3 separate regions of the Homo sapiens genome follow, and regions 1 and 2 are each linked to region 3. Evidence: promoter capture Hi-C in 16 types of primary human blood cells and fetal thymus (Javierre and others, 2016). All regions are on one chromosome and are shown on one strand. Each heading gives the region's core, a stretch centred on a gene start or on the middle of the fragment in contact. The rest is flanking DNA. Distances are from core to core; before and after follow the strand shown.

Evidence for each region. The method cuts DNA at HindIII sites, captures the fragments that hold promoters and counts their contacts. A CHiCAGO score of 5 or more calls a contact.
Region 1: a contact is called between a fragment that was not itself captured here and the fragment with the promoter of CYGB in region 3, in 1 of 17 cell types (total B cells). The highest score is 5.2, in total B cells.
Region 2: a contact is called between a fragment that was not itself captured here and the fragment with the promoter of CYGB in region 3, in 9 of 17 cell types (naive CD4 T cells, naive CD8 T cells, erythroblasts and 6 more). The highest score is 6.4, in naive CD4 T cells.

The regions. Positions count from the first base shown.
Region 1 is chr17:76,336,750-76,339,485 of GRCh38, reverse strand. All of the region lies in intron 3 of PRPSAP1 (phosphoribosyl pyrophosphate synthetase associated protein 1), which reads left to right. It also overlaps the pseudogene RNU6-24P. Among named protein-coding and RNA genes, the nearest start is that of PRPSAP1, 16 kb to the left of the region's middle. The HindIII fragment of the contact is 279 bases long and covers 1,210-1,488 here.
Region 2 is chr17:76,689,307-76,692,006 of GRCh38, reverse strand. All of the region lies in intron 1 of MXRA7 (matrix remodeling associated 7), which reads left to right. Among named protein-coding and RNA genes, the nearest start is that of MXRA7, 20 kb to the left of the region's middle. The HindIII fragment of the contact is 6,738 bases long and covers 1-2,700 here.
Region 3 is chr17:76,536,359-76,539,086 of GRCh38, reverse strand. CYGB (cytoglobin) reads left to right here and starts at 1,378. Exons shown (of 4, transcript NM_134268.5): 1 at 1,378-1,687. The coding sequence starts at 1,545. It also overlaps a transcript of PRCD not described here. The HindIII fragment of the contact is 9,970 bases long and covers 1-2,349 here.

The DNA.
Region 1 (2,736 bases), core at 100-2,599, 200 kb after region 3:
TGTTGTTTTGTGTGGGTGTGCAGCCCATAAAGAAGGTTATTAGGTTTGTCACAATAAACTGGTTCTTTTTGTTGTTTTTTTGAGACGGAGGCTTGCTGTGTTGCCCAGGCTGGAGTGCAGTGGCGTGATCTCGGCTCACTGCAACCTCTGCCTCCCAGGTTCAAGCAATTCTCCTGCCTCAGCCTCCTGAGTAGCTGGGATTATAGGCGTGTGCCACCACAGCCAGCTGATTTTTGTATTTTTAGTAGAGACGGGGTTTCACAGTGTTGACCAGAATGGTCTCAAACTCCTGACCTCAGGTGATCCACCCGCCTTGGCCTCCCAAAGTGCTGAGATTATAGACGTGAGCCACCGTGCCCAGTCAATAAACTAGTTTTTGTAGTGCTTGAGTACTGGATACTTTAGTACCAACTAAAGAACACAGATAATTTAATTTAATTTAATTTTTTTTTTGAGACGAGTTTCTTTCTTGTTGCCCAGGCTGGAGTGCAGTGGTGTGACCTTGGCTCACTGCAACCTCCACTTTCCAGGTTCAAGTGATTCTCCTGCCTGAGCCTCCCGAGTAGCTGGGATTACTGGCATGTACCACCATGCCTGGCTAATTTTGTATTTTTAGTAGAGATGGGGTTTTACCATGTTGGCCAGGCTGGTTTTGAACCCCTGACCTCAGGTGATCCATCCACCTCGGCCTCCCAAAGTCCTGGGATTACAGGCATGAGCCACCATGCCTGGCCTAATTTTTTATTTTATTTTATATTTTATATTTTATTTTATTTATTTTTTGAGACGGAGTCTTGCTGTGTTGCCCAGGTTGGAGTGCAGTGGCACAATCTCGGCTTACTGCAACTTCTGCCTCCTGGGTTCAAGCAATTCTCCTGTCTCAGCTTCCTGAGTAGCTGGGATTACAGGTGCACACCACCACACCCAGCTAATTTTTGTATTTTTAGTAGAGATGGGGTTTCTCCATGTTGCCTAGGCTGGTCTCGAACTCCTGACCTTAGGTGATTCACCTGCCTCAGCCTCCCAGAATGTTAGGATTACAGGCATGAGCCACTGTGCCCGACCTGGTTTTTTAATATTATCTGCGGTTACATAGATGAAGGAATATCTTTTACAGGTTTTTCTGTTGTTGGGAGGAAGGGGGCATTGCCTAAAGTAATAAGGCTAATTTTAGGCAAACAGACCAAAGCTTAGACATTAAAATAAGCTTAGTTGCCTTCAGAGCTGTTGTTCTAAAATCACATAGATACCTTTTTTTGGTGCTGTTTTTGCTTGGAATAGCTTTGGAACTACTGCTTCCAAACTTGCAGCATATTTCTTTTGACTGTTCTAATAATAGCAACCTTTTGGTCGTTGAGGATAGGTTTAATTTTTGGAAATGGCAAAAAGCCATTCAGAACAAAATGATTATTTTGGGTAATTGAACTGTGCGATACTCAGAGATTTTCCAGATATACCAAGCAATGGAACTAAGTAAAATATGAAGCTTATGAAGTATATTTTAAAGGTTAATTTTTATGTTTATGTACAAGTTCTAGTGTGTTGATGTAAAGTAAGCAGACTCATTAAAATAACATTTACAGCTGGGCACGGTGGCTCACACCTGTAATCCCAGCACTTTGGGAGGCCGAGGCAGGTGGATCAGTTGGTCAGGAGTTTGAGACCAGACTAGCCAACATGGTGAAACCCCGTCTCTACTAAAAATACAAAAAATTAACCAGGCATGGTGGCAGGTGCCTGTAATCCCAGATATTCGGAAGGCTGAGGTGGGAGAATCGATTGAACCCGGAAGGCAGAGGTTGCAGTGAGCCAAGATGGTGCTACTGCACTCTCGCCTTCCAGCCTGGGTGACAGAGTGACTCAGTCTCAAAACAACAACAAAAAATTCCCAGCTGCTGCAGATGATTAATTGTTACAGTTGGGAGCAGGGTAAATTCTCCCCCATTACTTCCAGCTGTGGTGTGGTTTCTCTTTTTGCGAGCCTGGCTAGTTTAATGAATGCGTATACCATGCCTGTTTCCTCATCTCAGGTTAGTTTGTTGTTGTTGTTGTTGTTGTTGTTTTCCAATATGGAACACTTCACGAATTTGCGTGTCATCCTTGCACAGGGGCCATGCTAATCTTCTCTGTATCATTCCAATTTTAGTATATGTGCTGCTGAAGAGAGCACACCTCAGGTTAGTTTTTGCCTGTCCAAAATGCTAGAGCAGTAAGGGCTGGACTTAATATAGGATGTGGTTTTCTTAGGGGAAAGAAAAGTAGTTGGTTGTCTGGGCATGATGGCTCAAGCTGTACTCCCAGCACTTTGGGAGGCCAAGGCGGGAGGATTGCCTGAGCCCAGGAGTACAAGACCAGCTGGGCAACATGGTGAGACCTTTCTCTATTTAAAAAAAAGAAAGAAAAGTAGTTGGTAAAACAATTAAGAATGTCCTACTTAGAGATAAAGACTACAAGAGCTAGCCAGGGTGTACTTGCAACATTCTTAGGGAACAGATAAAGCAGAGACTGCCAGCCGATTTCCCTTCGCCCTGCTAGTTCACAAAGTAACTGCCTGGTGTCCAATTTGTCCGGTATCTCTCAGTGAATGGGTAAAGCCAATGTGACAAAGCCCCTTTTGTCACCTTTCTGACCAATAAGGGGTGAGGTATGGAGCTTTCTTTAGCGTTGGGCTGGAGGATGTTGAATCCCTTGGAAAAATGGAAAATAAAAACCTCATGGGAAATTGCTCTTTTTTTT
Region 2 (2,700 bases), core at 172-2,671, 150 kb before region 3:
CTGGGTCCTTTGGGGATACGGATCTGCCCTGGCTCATGGACTCCTCGCCCTGGAGTGCAATTATTTGTTTGTCTTTCCTACTGGACCACGAGCTCCGTAAGGCAGGGACTGTGCTCATTGTTGCTGTTGTTTTTCATTTAATCTTTGTGTCCTTTGCACATAATAGGAGAACTGGCCTCCTGTCTATTCTTGATATTGGGCTTAGTTCCGGGGCCGTGCCCTGAATAGGTCAGTGACTGTTTGCCTGTCATTAAAGAGAGACATCAACCATGAGAAAAACCAACTGTTTTTCTGTCCATGCACACAACACTCCACAGAACCCTTCACTTCTGATACCAAATATGCAGCCAGCCCCACCCCTGCAACCAACACCTTCTCCAGCCACCCAGACACCAAGTGGGTGTCCTCCCGTTCAACTCTGACATTAACTGCCTGGAATCAGTGCAGACCCCACAGGTTAGGGCCCAGTCCCACAGACTGCCCCCTACTTCAGGGGCCAATCACAAGTATCAGGTCCCCTCGTTCCCCACACTTTGGTCCTACTTGCCTACAAATCAAGGGTTCCATGAACCCCTCCTCAAGTTGAGTAATTTGCTACAGCGTCTTACGGAGCTCAGGGAAGCACTTATGTTAACTGGTTTATTAGAAAGGAAGTGATAAAGGCTACAGATGAACAGCCAGATGGAGGTACCTAAGTAGAGTAAGGTCCAGTAGGGTCCTGAATGCAGGAGCTTCCGTCCCCATGGAGTTGGGGTACGCTACCCCCTGCGCACGGGAATGCATTCAGCAGCCTGGAAGCTCTCCAAACCCTATCGGGATGTTGACGGAGGCCTCATCACATAGGCGTCATCGATTCTTAACTCAATCTCCAGCTCCTCTCCAGTCTCTGGAGGAAGCTGGGGGGTGGTGGGGCTGAAAGTTCCAAGCTCCTCATTGCAGCTTGATCTCTCTGGTGATCAGCCCACCCAGGAGTTACCTCATTAGAACAAAAGACACTCCTGTCACCCGGGAAATTCCAACGGACTTAGGAGCTCTGTGCCAGGGACTGGGATCAAAACCAAATGTTAGAACAAAACATGCTGCTAGCACCCCTGTAACTTAGGAAATTCAAGGGACTTAGGAGCTCAGTGTCAGGGCTGGGCATGGTGGCATGCACCTGTGATCCCAGCTATTCCAGAGGCTGAGGCAGGAGGATCGCTTGAGCCCTGGAGGTCAAGACTGCAGTGAGCCGTGATTGCACCACTGCACTCCAGTCTGGGCAACAGAGCAAGATCCTGTCTCAAAAAACAAACAAAATAAAAACTGTGTCAAGAACTGGGGGCCGAAACCAAATATATATATATTTAGGATGTTACATTCTTTCTACTTTTTTTTTTCCAAGTGATCCTTCTGCCTCAGCCTTCTAAGTAGGTGGGATCACAGGTGCGTGCCACCATGCACAGCTAATTTTTAAATTTTCAGTAGAGGCGAGGTGTGCACTATGTTGCCAGGCTGGTCTTGAACTTCTGGGCTCAAGCAGCCCTCCCACCTCAGCCTCCCAAAGTGCTGAGATTGCAGGCATGAGCCACCACACCTGGCCTCTTACTTTTTTTTTCTTTTTTAGAATATATAAGAAAATAAATAAAGAAAAAATGGGGTCTTTGGATCTGACTGTCCAAAGACACCATTAGCATTTAAAAAATATATTTAGTCATTCATGCATATTAATGGAAAGTCCAAATTATACTGAACTCTATAAGACGGAAAGGAAAAGCTGCCCCCCAAGCTCCTTTCCCAAGAGGTAGCCACTGCTGACAGTTTCTCGTGGGCCCTTCCAAAAAACAAACCTTTTCTCTGCATTTTCGAGCACATGCGTGCATTTCCACTTTGCCATTTACAGCAAGATGACTGCGCTGCTCACGTGGGGCTGCTGCTTGCATTTTTCCCTCGATTTATCTTGATGTACTTTTCATGTCAGCACCTATCAACGCCTCCTTTTTTTTTTTTTTTCTTTTTTTAAGATGCAGTCTTGCTGTGTCACTAGGCTGGAGTGCAATGGCGCAATCTTGGCTTACTGCAACCTCCACCTCCCGGGTTCAAGCGATTCTCCTGCCTCAACCTCCTGAGTAGCTGGGATTAAAGGCACCTGCCACAACACTCGGCTAATTTTTTTTTGTATTTTTAGTAGAGACGGGGTTTTGCCATGTTGGCCAGGCTGGTCTCGAATTCCCAACCTCAGCTGATCCACCCACCTAGGCCTCCCAAAATTCTGGGATTACAGGCGTGAGCGACCGCACCCGGTCCCCAGTTCTGTCTTTTCAACTGCACGCGGTCAGAGTCATTATATAAAAATCCTGATGGACATTTCTCCAGTCTGGAGCAGATCCCTAGAAGTGGGTTTGCTGTGTCAAATGGAGCGGCTCCTCTTCCTGCCCCCGGAAGAGGCCTGCCCACTCCGACCTCAGCCATAGAGATACTTTGCTGTGCAAAATTTGGGAAACGTCAGGACACACAGGCACCACTTCGCCATAGATAGCACTAAGTCTGTGTGTACAAAGTGCCCAACAGGGAAGACGCTGTGTTGCCTGCGCAGCTCCCCCCAGGCAGCATTTTGTGTAGTCAAGGAAGTCCCTCAGGCCAGGCACAGTGGCTCACTCCTGTAATCCCAACACTCTGGGAGGCCGAGGCAGGCGGATCACCTGAGGTCAGGGGTTCGAGACC
Region 3 (2,728 bases), core at 129-2,628:
CTCAACAAGGGGGAGACAGTGTCAGAGGCACTGCCTCAGGGTCCCCCAGGCACCTGAACCCTGAGCTCCCAGGAGGGGCCCAGGCTGCAGCTGAGGCTGGCCAGGGTGAGTTCTCCTCGCCTCCCCCGGACCTTAAAGTCGGATTTTAAGAATAAATACATGAACCATAGTGAAAGCGCAGAGCCAACCCTTAGCAATGCTTGGGCAATGGGACATCAAGTCTTGAGCGAGGACAGGGGTCGCCGGGAGCCTGAGTGACATCTCTTCCCAACACTGCCAGGCCCTGTCTGGCCTCAGGCTGTCCCCAGGACTGAGCAGCCGCTGCAGGGCAGGCACCATGGGATTCTCCCCCCACCTCTGGCCCAATCTCACACTGCCCTGGATAGGGCCCACCAGGAGGAAGGATTTGCCTCCCCCAGGCCCGGAATCGGGCCCTTGGTGGCGGCTGAGATGTCCCCAGCAGCCTGCGCCTTCCTCAAGACTTTTTGTCTGCCAGGTCCTGTCTGCCCTATCCGGTGCCTCTCTGGACTTCCTCCGCCACCAGCTGGGCTAGAATTCAGGGCAGCGGCTGGTTCTTGCCTGTCCGTGTCATTCATAAGCCACGGGGGACTTCTGGCCGCCGCCGCCGCGTTCGTGCACCGAGGGCATGGAGGTGCTGGGCGGAAGGAGAGGGGGCGCAGGCCTCTGGCGCCCGAGGTCGGAGGTGCGCTCAAGTTCCGACAGCCGGGGCGGTGGGCGGGCAGGGGGACGACCCCCGTGCTAACCCCCCAGAGCCTGGGCGTCCAGAGCCGTGGGAGTGGCGCCGCGGCCCCCAGCGGCTGGCTCGGGGGCGCGGGGAGAGGCCCGGGCGAGGGGAGCCCAGCTAGGTCCACGGCGGCCGCCGGAGGGGCTCCTGTTCGCCCCCACGGGCGGGCTGGCGGTCGGCCTCGCCGCGAAAGCTCGGGAGTGTTGGACTTTGAGTCAGTTCCCCGCCGCGGGAAGGGTCCGCACGCGCACACTCGCGACGCCGCAAGCACTGGGACCCGGAACCCAGCGCTCCCGGCCCGCGCCCGCCCCAGCGCACTCCTGTGCGGCCCGCGCCGCCCAGCGCCGCGTGACCGCCCATTCCTCCCGGGACCCCCAGCGCCCCGGCCACACCTACCCGAGCCCCGCCCCGCGGTGCAACTCCGCCGTGGCCTGCGGGTGGGCGGGCGGCAGTCGCGTCGCCCCCACCCCGCGCAGCCTTCACCTTGCCGGCATTGGCTCTTACCCACACGGGGCTGGGGGTTTGGAGCGGATTTGTTTTTTTAAACATTTTCCAGCAGACCACATCCCCGCCCCACCGCTGGCTGTCCCCCGCCCCCCGCACATATACCCTGCACACACGCACGCACACACACACACACACCCGGCGCGCACAGACACACGCTCCCTCCCTCCGCGCTCTACCCCTCGCCCGCCCGCCGCGCACGCAGCCGGCCCCGGCTCCCGGCGCCCCGCGCCCCGCGCCCCGCGCCCCGCCACCGCCGCCGCCGAGCAAAGCCGGGCTGGGCTTGGAGCTGCTCATGGAGAAAGTGCCAGGCGAGATGGAGATCGAGCGCAGGGAGCGGAGCGAGGAGCTGTCCGAGGCGGAGAGGAAGGCGGTGCAGGCTATGTGGGCCCGGCTCTATGCCAACTGCGAGGACGTGGGGGTGGCCATCCTGGTGAGGTAGGTGTCGCCCGGCCCGGCCGGGCCCTGGGCAGGGAGGGCGGCAGCGGCTCCGGGCAGAGGAGGGCTGGGCCCGGGTCCGAGCTCCAGCGCCACCTCCCCAGCCGCGAATGGGGCCGGTCCGAGGTCGGCGGAGCAGGCGGCGTGGGGCGCCTTGGGGTGAACGAAGCCTGGGTTGAGCCTTCCCTGGCTCCGGCGCGGTGTTCACCAGGATCTAGGAACCAGATGCAGGAGAGCACCTCGGTCCCCCTCCTCTCCCCGGCCTCAGAACTCCTTGCTCGGCCAGCCACCCCAGACACCCAGCCAAACTGTCAGACACACACATTTTTCTGGCCTTTCAAAGGTAGTATAGCAGGGGCTCCCCATTTTAGAGATGGGAAAACCGAGGCTCAGCCAAGAAGCGGGACAAAGAGGAGCAGAACCCTGTCTCCAGCTCAGCGGCTTGCGGGATTCAAAGCCTCTTGGAAGAACAGAGAGCAAAGAGCAGAGGTTGAGAAAGAGGAGAGCCCGGGGGGTCCAGTGTTCCCAGCTGCCCCCTTCCCGCTGGAGGGCACGGGCCAGCAGGAGCGCCCAGGGCAGGCACAGGTGAGTGGAGAAGCAAACAGTCCCCTAGGATACAATCCCTGCTGAGTTTGGAGGGTGAGGGGAAGAAGAGAGAAGCTTCAGGAGACAGGGCCTAACCCTAAAACCTCCCACCTAGGGAGGAAATGCAGTGGCTTGGGCTTAGGGGTCATTCAGGCACTACATGCCCCCAAGAGACCCACAAACACAGAGCGCCCCGTTCTTCACACACCTAGGCTTAGAGCACACACACCATCCTTATAGAGGTGATGTGTCCAAGTCTCGAAAGCTAGTCACTGACTCTAGCTACAAATCCATGCTCTCTTTCCACACGTGCTGGTCCCTGGGGGTGCAGGCAGAGGAGCCCCAGACCATGCTCACCCTCAAGCCCCTCTTCTTGGCAGAGGAAAGCGGTCAAATCTAGGACAGAGCAGGGCAGCCTTGTCATGTGCAGATGGGGTGAAGCCTCGCTCTGGAAGG